2 separate regions of the Homo sapiens genome follow, and region 1 is linked to region 2. The links are contacts of gene promoters, found by promoter capture Hi-C in human tissues and cell types (Jung and others, 2019). All regions are on one chromosome and are shown on one strand. The core of a region is centred on a gene start or on the middle of the fragment in contact, and the rest is flanking DNA. Distances in the headings are between cores, read along the strand shown. Region 1 has its middle 74 kb from the start of CHMP4B. Region 2 holds the start of PXMP4 (peroxisomal membrane protein 4).

The links. The method cuts DNA at HindIII sites, captures the fragments that hold promoters and counts their contacts. A contact is called where the count stands out against the background at its distance.
Region 1: a fragment that was not itself captured here is called in contact with the fragment with the promoter of PXMP4 in region 2 in 1 of the 25 tissues and cell types used here (lymphoblastoid cells).

What each region holds. Positions count from the first base shown.
Region 1 is chr20:33,883,184-33,888,079 of GRCh38, forward strand. No RefSeq gene overlaps it. Among named protein-coding and RNA genes, the nearest start is that of CHMP4B, 74 kb to the left of the region's middle. RefSeq lists enhancers at 20-139, 320-579. The HindIII fragment of the contact is 3,948 bases long and covers 1,307-4,896 here.
Region 2 is chr20:33,718,221-33,723,431 of GRCh38, forward strand. It overlaps PXMP4 (peroxisomal membrane protein 4), which reads right to left and starts at 2,090. Exons shown (of 4, transcript NM_007238.5): 1 at 1,875-2,090. The coding sequence starts at 1,987. RefSeq lists an enhancer at 1,637-1,686. The HindIII fragment of the contact is 6,661 bases long and covers 1,836-5,211 here.

The DNA of each region.
Region 1 (4,896 bases), core at 2,031-4,530, 170 kb after region 2:
TTAGTCGCCAGGTGTTTCTTTCAAAAAAGAAGTTTAAGCTATTCTTGTAAGGGGAAGCTTTGTTTCAAGGTTTATGAAAGTTGCATCTGTGCTGAGGTGGTCTTGTTTTCTGGAAATCCCCTGGCCAGGGTTGGAAATCCTGGGGCCAGGCTGTATCAACTGCTAAGTGACACCTGGTGTCCGGCCTGTGAGATGCTTAAGTGGGTCCTATGGCTCTTGTTAATCTCACAGTTGCAGTATGTCTCTTTTTATACTATGACAGCAACCTCAGCCCTGGTGACCTCAGCTCCCGCGCCGCATCCTCTGTACTCTTGCTCTTCAATTTTTAAGAATGAGTTTCATGATTATGGGTTTCAAAAATTACATTCAGGACTGCGTGTGGTGGCTCATGCCTATAATCCCAGCACTTTGGGACGCCAAGGTGGGTGGATCACTTGAGGTTAGGAGACCAGTCTGGTCAACATGGTGAAACCCTGTCTCTACTAAAAAAAATAAAACTTAGCAGGGCGTGATGGTGCACACCTGTAATTCCAGCTACTCAGGAGGCTGAGGCAGCAGGATCACTTGAATCTGGGAGGTGGAGGTTGAAGTGAGCCGACAACATGCCACTGCACTCCAGCCTGGGTGACAGAGTGAGACTCCATCTCAAAACAAAAACAAAAACAAAAACAATTCAAAAGGCACACAGTAAAACAAGGCTAACTCCTGCATCGTCCTCACCTGCCTAGTCCCCATCACCTGCCACATGCCTTAGTTCCTTGTGTATCCTTCCAGTTTCTTTATGCAAATGTAAATAGGACAAATATGTCGTCATATTTACCACCCCCACACATGCTTTATATACAAATGGTAGCTTATCAGGAACGTGGTTCTATACTTTCATTTTTGCACTTAATACATCTTGGAGATCTTTTTGTATCTGCAGAGAGAAGGCTGCTTCATTCTCTGGTACAGCTTGACCATCATTTCCTTAGCCAGCTCCCAGGTAGTGGATGTTTGTGTGGCAGGTGCTGCTGCTGCCCTGTCCCATATCTCCCACCTACCAGAGCTCACCAGCAGCCCTTTCATTTCTCCAGGCTTTAGCCCACACAGGTCTCTCTGCCTGGGATATGCTTCTGCTTCTTCATCTCAAATCAAGAGTCTGGCAGCCCCGCCAGAGACACTAACCTAACTAGTTCAGGCAGGGCTAGCACTTTGGGCCTCAGGGTCTCCCTTACCTCCTCTGCCTCAGGAATGATCACAGTGGATTAAATCCTCTCCTTATCTGCCTGCCTGGCTGGGAGCACCTGGGCAGGGGTCAGAGCTGTGGGGGGGCAATGGGGAAGATGAGTCAGATTCATCACTATGTCCCAGCACCTCTTACCACATCCCATGGCCTCTAGTGAAGCAGGAGAAGGATTGTATAAAATCCAAACTCCTTCCCGTGGCCTACAAAGCCCTGCTGACCCCGTCCCTGCCTGCCATCACCCCCAACCTCAGGTCCAGCCAGTGTGGCCTTCTTGTTCCTCAGAGACCTCAAACTCGATCCTGCCTCAGGGCTTTTGTTCTTATACTTTCCTCTACTTGGACTCTCTTTTCCCCAGATCTCCTGATTAGACCTCAGCTCAAATGACACTTCCTCCAAGAGGCCTTCCCTGACCACCTTGACTAAAATATCCTACTCACCCCTGCCAACTTTGGGAACCCAAGGCAGGAAGATCAGTTGAGGCCAGGAGTTCAAGACCAGCCTGGGCAACATAGTGAGATCCCATCTTTGAAAAAAAAAAAAAAACACCCCCACTTTCTTAGCAGTTATGGGATGAATTGTGTCCTTCCCAAAGTTTATAGGTTGAAGCCCTAACCCCGAGTACCTCAGAATGTCACTGTGTTTGGAGATAAGGTCTTTAAAGAGGTGAATAAGTTAAAATGAGGCCAGTAGGGCTGGGTCTTAATCCAATCTGAGTGGTGTCCTTTTTGTTTGTTTGTTTGTTTGTTTTGTTTTGTTTTGTTTTTGAGACAGAGTCTTGCTCTGTCTCCCAGGCTGGAGTGCAGTGATGCGATCTTGGTTCACTGCAACCTCTGCCTCTGGGGTTCAAGCAATTTTCCTGCCTCAGTCTCCCGAGTAGCTGGGACTAACAGGCACGTGCCACCACTCCCGGCTAATTTTTTTTTTGTATTTTTGGTAGAGACAGGGTTTCACCATGTTGGCCAGGCTGGTCTTGAACTCCTGAGCTCGTGATCCACCCATCTCGGCCTCCCAAAGTGCTGGGATAACAGGCGTGAGCCACTGTGCCCGGCCTGGTATCCTTTTTAAAAGGGGGAAGCAACACAAGGGATGAGGGTGCACAGAGGGAAGGCCGTGTGAGGACATGGGGAGGAAAGCCGAGGAGGGAGGCCTCCAAGGAAACCCTGCGGGTGCCTTGGTCTTGGACTTGCTGCCTCTGGAACTGTGGGAAAATAAATTTCTGTTATTTGAGCCAGGGGTCCTCAATCCCCTGGCCATGGACCAGTACTGGTCCATGGCCTATTAGGAACCTGGCACACAGCAGGAGGTGAGTGGCTGGTGAGGGAGAGAAGCTTCGTCTGTATATACAGCCGCTCCCCATCACACGAATGGCTGCCTGAGCTCTGCCTCCTGCCAGATCAGCGGCAGCATTAGATGCTCACAGGAGTGTGAACCCTGTTGTGAACTGTTCATGCGGGGGATCTAGGTTGCATGCTCCTTATGAGAATCTAATGCCTGATGATCTGTCACTGTCTCCCGTGACTCTCAGATGGGACCATCTAGTCGCAGGAAAACAAGCTCAGGCTGGACCTGGTGGCTCACGCCTGTAATCCCAGCACTTTGGGAGGCCGAGGCAGGTGGATCACGAGGTGAGGAGTTTGAGGCCAGCCTGACCAACATGGTGAAACCCTGTCTCTACTAAAAATACAAAAATTAGCAGGGCACGGTGGTGAGCGCTTGTAATTCCAGCTACTCAGGAGGGTGAGGCAGGAGAATTGCTTGAACCCAGGAGGCGGAGGTTGCAGTGAGCCAAGATCGCGCCATTGCACTCCAGCCTGGGCGACAGAGAGAGACTTCGTCTCAAAAAAAAAAAAAAAAAAGGAACACAAGCTCAGGGCTCCCACTGATTCTACATTATGGTGAGTCATATAATTATTTCGTTGTATATTACAGTGTGGTAATAATATAAATAAAGTGTACAATAAATATAATATGAATCATCCCCAAACCATCCCCCCCACTATCCATGGAAAAACTGTCTTCCACGAAACCCGTCCCTGGTGCCAAAAAGGTTGGGACCACTGATTTAAGCTACCCAGTCTGTGGTACTTTGTTATGCAGCCTAAGCTGACTCTACATCTTCCAGCGCATTTCTTCCAATGCACTGTCTGACATGACTTGTTTACTGTCTGCCTCCCCGTACAAGGGCAAGTCATTTAATTGTCTTGCTCATGGTGTAGCCCCAGCTCCTACAACAGAGCCTGGTACATAGTAGGCACTCAATAAATACTCACAGGATGAATGAGCAAATGCCAATTCCATGAAGCAGAGAGTGTCATATGAAGATCCCCCCAACGCTCACAAGCACATGTGTGAATGCACCCACATGTGTGCTCAGACATGTACGTGGATAGCTGGGCGCTCACACACATGCATCCTGCCCTGCATCTTTGCCTCTGACCATGTCCACTTCATGGCAAGGGCCATGTACACAGCCTGCAGGCTCAGCGGATGGCATGACTGTGCCTGTTTCAAGCTGGCTGTGCCTCTGAGCTGCCCTCAGAAACCCACGCCTGGCGCTCCTGTCAGGAGTGTGCTTGGATGCTAGGCCTCCCAGAGGGGTCAGAAGATGGGGAAGAAGAATCTGTTTGCAAATGGAAATCAGAATAAGCTCTACCAGGCACAGAGAACAGGGAAGGCAGTGGGCAGAATATGAGTTTTCCCAGCCCCCCACTGGGGGTCAGAACAATCAGCGAGTTCCTTCTGTGCCAGCCACATGACAAGTACATTATGCCCTGTGAAGTGGTGGGTTATTCACTCCCATTTTACCGATGAGAACACAGGCTGGTGTATCCCAGCATTTTGGGAGGCCGAGGTGGGATGATTTCTTGAGCCCAGGAGGTCTGGTTTGCAGTGATCTGTGATTGTACCATAGCACTCCAGCCTGAGTGACAGAGTAAGTCCCTGTCTCTCTCTCTCTCTCTCTCTCTCTCTCTCTCTCTCTCTCTCTATATATATATATATATATATATATATATATATATATATATATATATATATATTTATGTACACACACACGGGATTGGAGAGACCAATTCAATACTCCCTCAGTATTTTTTTTTGAGATGGAGTCTCACTCTGTTGCCCAGGCTGGAATGAAGTGGCTTGATCTTGGCTCACTACAACCTCTGCCTCCCAGGTTCAAGTGATTCTCCTGCCTCAGCCTCCTGAGCAGCTGGGATTACAGGTCCCCCGCCACCACGCCTGGCTAATTTTTGCATTTTCATTAGAGACGGAGTTTCACCATGTTGGCAAGTCTGGTCTCAAACTCCTGACCTCAAGTGATCTGCCTGCCTTAGCCTCCCAAAGTGTCCCCCAGTATTTTATGGAGGCCCTAGGTATAACACTGATTGCTCACTTATTTTGTTGAAGCAGATGATATGGTGATTAAGAGCCTCAGCTTGGGAGCCAGACAGCCTGGGTTCAAATTCTTGCCCTGATAATTACTAGCTGTGTGATTTTGGGCAAATCACATCGCCTGTCTATGCCTTCCTTTCTTTATCTGTAAAATAGAGTTATAATGGTACCTACTTGCTTGAGTTAATACATGTACAGGGCTTCGAATGGGGCCTGGCATGTAGTAGGCACATTTCTTGAGCAATAAATGTTAGTCCTTATTCCTTATTTCTAAT
Region 2 (5,211 bases), core at 840-3,339:
GTGTCCAAGGCTGGGTGTGGTGGCTCACGCCTGTAATCCCAGCACAATGGGAGGCCGAGACAGGCCGATCACGAGGTCAGGAGATCGAGCCCATCCTGGCTAACACGGTGAAACCCTGTCTCTACTAAAAATACAAAAAAATTAGCCGGGCGTGGTGGTGGGTGCCTGTAGTCCCAGCTACTCAGGAGGCTGAGGCAGGAGAATGGTGTGAACCTGGGAGACGGAGCTTGCAGTGAGCCGAGATTGCGCCACTGCACTCCAGCCTGGGCAACAGAGCGACACTCCATCTCAAAAAAAAAAAAAAAAAAAAAAAAAAAAAACTTGGCAAAAGGGTTACTGATGTTATCTCAGGGCACATCAAGGATATGCCCTTGGCCAGACCCAGTGGGAACCAGTTCTACCTGACTCTTGAGTGTCCATGGGAGCCAAGAGCCTGGCACTGGTGCCAGGCATCCTTGGGTTTGAATCCCGGCTCCAACCGTGACCAAGTGCTGTGGCCACGAGCAATGGGTCTACCTCTGAGCTACAGCCTTTTCATCTGGAAAATGGGGACAATGGCAATTCTGATCTTGCACACTTATTCATTCATTCAATAAATATTTCAGAAACTACTAAATACCAGGTGCTAGTAATACACCAAGGAACAAAATAGATAAAGTTATGGCCTCATGAAACTTTCTTTTTTTTCCTTTTGAGATGGAGTTTCACTCTGTCACCCAGGCTGGAGTGCAGTGGCACAATCTCAGCTCACTGCAACCTCCACCTCCTGGGTTCAAGCGGTTCTCCTGCCTCAGCCTCCCATGTAGCCGGGACTACAGGCATGTGACACTACACCCGGCTAATTTTTGTATTTTTGGTAGAAACGGGGTTTTGCCATGTTGGCCAGGCTAGTCTCGAACTCCTGACCTCAGATAATCCGCCTGCCTCGGCCTCCCAAAGTGCTAGGATTACAGGTGTGAGCCACCGTGGCCAGCCTGTGCTAAGCATTTCACACATATTGACTCAATCCTGATAGTATAAGTACTAGTACCATGCCCATTTTACAGATATTGAGGCTTAGAGAGGCTAAATGACTTCCTCCAGATCACACGGGTAGGTGGGGCCAGGGTTCAAGCCAAGGCATCCACATCCTTCCCACCATCCCACGTTGCCACTAGGATGCCAATTCTGGGGGACACAAACCACTTTCTCTGGTTTGTTCTCTGCTTTGTCCCCGGTTCTGGCACTGTAGGCCCTCAATAAATGGTGGCTGTTATGCACTAGGTTTAAAGGAGACTGAGCTCCCCTCTAGGCACCAGCCAGGGCAATGACCCCAAGACCTCTCTTGCAGGTAAGATGCCAGGATAGTTGCAGCTTCTTTTACATTCATTGTCACGTCCCAGGAGCCCCCTGAGCCGAACGGGACTTAGCGCTGGAGTCCTACAGGTGAGAAGTGAGAAGCAGGATGCAAGCCCATGGGCAAGCTTCATGGGGACAGAATAGACAGGAGGCATCCGCCTGCCAGCTAGAGGCCAGAGTCCAGTTCCCCATTGTGCAGATGGGGCCGTTGAGGCCCAAAGGCACACAGAGAGGTGAGGTGAACTGAACCCAAATGAGGGGATACAGAAGCTGGCATGGGAGGAGTCAAAGCAAGAGGGCCAGGCTGCAAAGGTTGGAAGACCCAGAAAATGTGCAGTGGGAGCCCCAGTTCAGAGCTGGGAAGGCGCGCAAGCCAAAATCCAGCTCCCATTGCACAGATGGTGACCTCCGAGACTTAGAGACACACGAGGACTGCTCCAGGGCAAACAGCACCGCGGCATCGGACTTCGAACTCGCGCCTCTGACCCCAGGCAGGACATCCCTCAGCCCCAGCCCGGCCCGACGGCCCCACTCACACAGCCCCGTTCCGGAAGCCCTTAAGCACGGCCAACGCAGCGTGGTAGCGGCGCTTGCGCAGCAGTGCGTTGACGACTACGAGCAGAGCCCTTAGCTGCGGCGGGGCTGCCATAGTGCGGGCTGCGCGCAGGGTCGGGGTTAGGAACTGTAAGCGCACTGACAGCCGGAGGTTCCAGCTGCGCGCCCACAGCCCCTCGGTAGCGCCGCCGACTCGTGGCGTCTATAGGCTGTTTCTGCGTCACTCATGCATGGAAGACCAATCAGAGAGCGTACTTGTCTCATGGGACAATAGCACTCATCGAAATAGTTGTCTGACTGGAAGAGAAAGGAAAGCTTGTAGCCAATCACAGTGGGCTCCGCCCAAGGTCACACACGATTTGTCCAATCAGAAGGCACTTTCCCTTGGGCCATGTTGGGTTCACGAGTGGGTTTGGAAGGAGGCGTGTACTTGGAAGGAGGGCTCCTGAATGAGGAGTGGCCCTGCTTAGAGATGGGATGGGCGACAGGTGATGATACAGGGAGGAGCAGGGCCCCATCTTTATGCGAGATAGTTCTGACTGGGATATCCTTTACCATAGCGATCTTCCCAGAGTGTCAGTCACATGGCCCCTCAATGGCTTCCATGTACGTATGTATGTTTTGAGATGCAGCCTCGCTCTGTCACCCAGGCTGGAGTGCAGTGGCGCGATCTCGGCTCACTGCAACCTCCACCCCCCAGGGTTCAAGCAGTTCTCCTGCCTCAGCCTCCTGAGTAGCTGGGACTACAGGCACCCACCACCATGCCTGGCAAATTTTTTTGTATTTTTAGTAGAGACGGGGTTTCACCATGTTGGCCAGGCTGCTCTCCTGACCTCAGGTGATCCACCTGCCTCGGCCTTCCAAAGTGCTGGGATTACAGGCGTGAACCCAGCCGGCGTCCACTTATTCTTAGAATCCAAACTCCTCCCCAAGGCCCAAGAGAGAAGACCTCCTGTGATCTGGTCCGTGCCTCTCCCTCTGACCCCACGTTCCAGCACTTGCCACCTCACTGCTTCCCAGCCAAACAGCCTCCTTTCTGTTCCTTGGGCCAAGAACCCTTCTACCTCAGGGCCTTTGCACTTGCTGGTTCCCTGCTTGATATTCGCCATCCTGGGCTCTTCCCATGATGGGCTTCTTCTCATCCTTCAGGTTTCAGCTCAAATGCCACTTCATCAGAGAGACTTTCTGAGACATCCAATTTGAAGTAGCACTGTCCACTCTGACTCATTACCCTGGCTCTTTTTTTTTTTTTTTTTTTTTTAGACTGAGTCTCGGATCTATCACCCAGGCTGGAGCGCAGTAGTGTGATCTCAGCTCACTTCAACTTCTGCCTCCCAGGTTCAAGGGATTCTTCTGCCTCAGCCTCCTGAGGAGCTAGGACTACAGGTGCATGCCACCACGCCCGGCTAATTTTTGTATTTTTAGTAAAGACGGGGTTTCACCATATTGGCCAGGCTAGTCCAAACTCCCGACCTTGTGATCCGCCCGCCTCGGCCTCCCAAAGTGCTGGAATTACAAATGTGAGCCATCGTGCCCGGCCACCCTGGTTCTTATGTGTTTTTTTTTTTTATAGAACTTTTGACACTTTAGACTTGTTTACTATGTGTTCATTGTCCATTGCCCTTATCAAACTGTAAATTCTATGAAGGAAGAAATCTTATTTGTCTTGTTTTCTGCTGTAACCCCAACACTAGGCACATGGTGGGTACTCAACACTTGCTTGTTTAAGCAACACATAGTTTTGGGTTGTCATCTCTGAGAGCATTGATGGGTGACATTAACATATGATGTCACTATGTGGAGTTGTCACTGAATAACAGCTACACACTGAGTGGTGGCTGTGACTTGTGAGGGTGTCCCCTGGTACTTGGGCCATATGGTATTTACCAGTGATGTTATTTGCTCAGTGTCAGGGGACAATTTCAGAGGTCAATGAAGGAGGGAGTTGTGCTGGGCCTATTTTGTCACTGAAACTGGGTTGTCCGGGATTTTTCTTTTGTGATGGTAGGCTACTTTATTCAGTTCATCCTTCCTCTGAAGATAATGACTATGTTAGATAATATATTAAAATATCCTCTTAAAAACACTGAAGTTCCTTGGCTGGGCACAGTGGCTCATGCCTGTAATCCCAGCACTTTGGGAAGCCGAGGCGGGCGGATCACTTGAAGCCAGGAGTTCGAGACCACCCCTGACCAACATGGTGAAACCCCGTCTCTAAAAAATTAAAAAACAAAAACAAAAACAAAAAAACACTGAAGCTCTGCCAGGTGCGGTAGGTAGCTCACGCCTGTAATCCCGGCACTTTGGGAAGCCAAGGTGGGTGGATCTCTTGAGCCCAGGAGTTCAAGACCAGCCTGGGCAACATGGCGAAAACCCATCTCTACTAAAAATACAAAAATTAGCCAGGCCTGGTGGCACACACCTGTAGTCCCAACTACAGGTGCGGGAGGATCACCTGAGCCTGGAGAGGTCAACACTGCGGTGAGCGGTGATCACGCCACTGGACTCCAGCCTGGGTGACTGAGACCCTGTGTCAAACTGAAGTGCTTAAAAGTATGAGGAATGTGGCCGGGCACGGTGGCTCACGCCTTTAATCCCAGCACTTTGGGAGGGTGAGGTGGGTGGGTCACCTGGGGTCGGAGTTCGAGACGAGCCTGACCAACACAGAGAAATCCTGTCTCTACTAAAAATACAAAATTAGCCGGGCGTGGTGGCACGTGCCTGTAATCCCAGCTACTCAGGAGGCTGAAGCAGGAGAATCGCTTGAACCCGGGAGGCAGAGGTTGCAGTAAGCTGAGATCGCGCCGCTGCACTCCAGCCTGGGCAACCAGAGCGAAAGTCCATCTTTTTTTTTTTTTTTTTTGAGACGGAGTCTCGCTCTGTCGCCCAAGCTGGAATGCAGTGGTGCGATCTTGGCTCACTGCAAGCTCCACCTCCCGGGTTCACGCCATTCTCCTGCCTCAGCCTCCCGAGCAGCTGGGACTACAGGTGCCCACCACCACGCTGGGCTAATTTTTTGTATTTTTAGTAGAGATGGGGTTTCATCATGTTAGCCAGGATGGTCTCGATCTCCTGACCTCGTGATCCGCCCGCCTCCGCCTCCCAAAGTGCTGGGATTATAGGCGTGAGCCACCGCGCCCGGCCCGAAAGTCCATCTTAAAAAAAAAAAAAAAAGTATGAGGAATGCTCAGGCCAATTATGGAGTGAAAGCTGGTAACCAGATGCTTAACGGGAAGATTGGGATATTGGAGCACCAAGGCTACTTATGACATGAGGGCGTTTACCAATATTAAACCTGCAAGTTTCAGCTTGTCAACC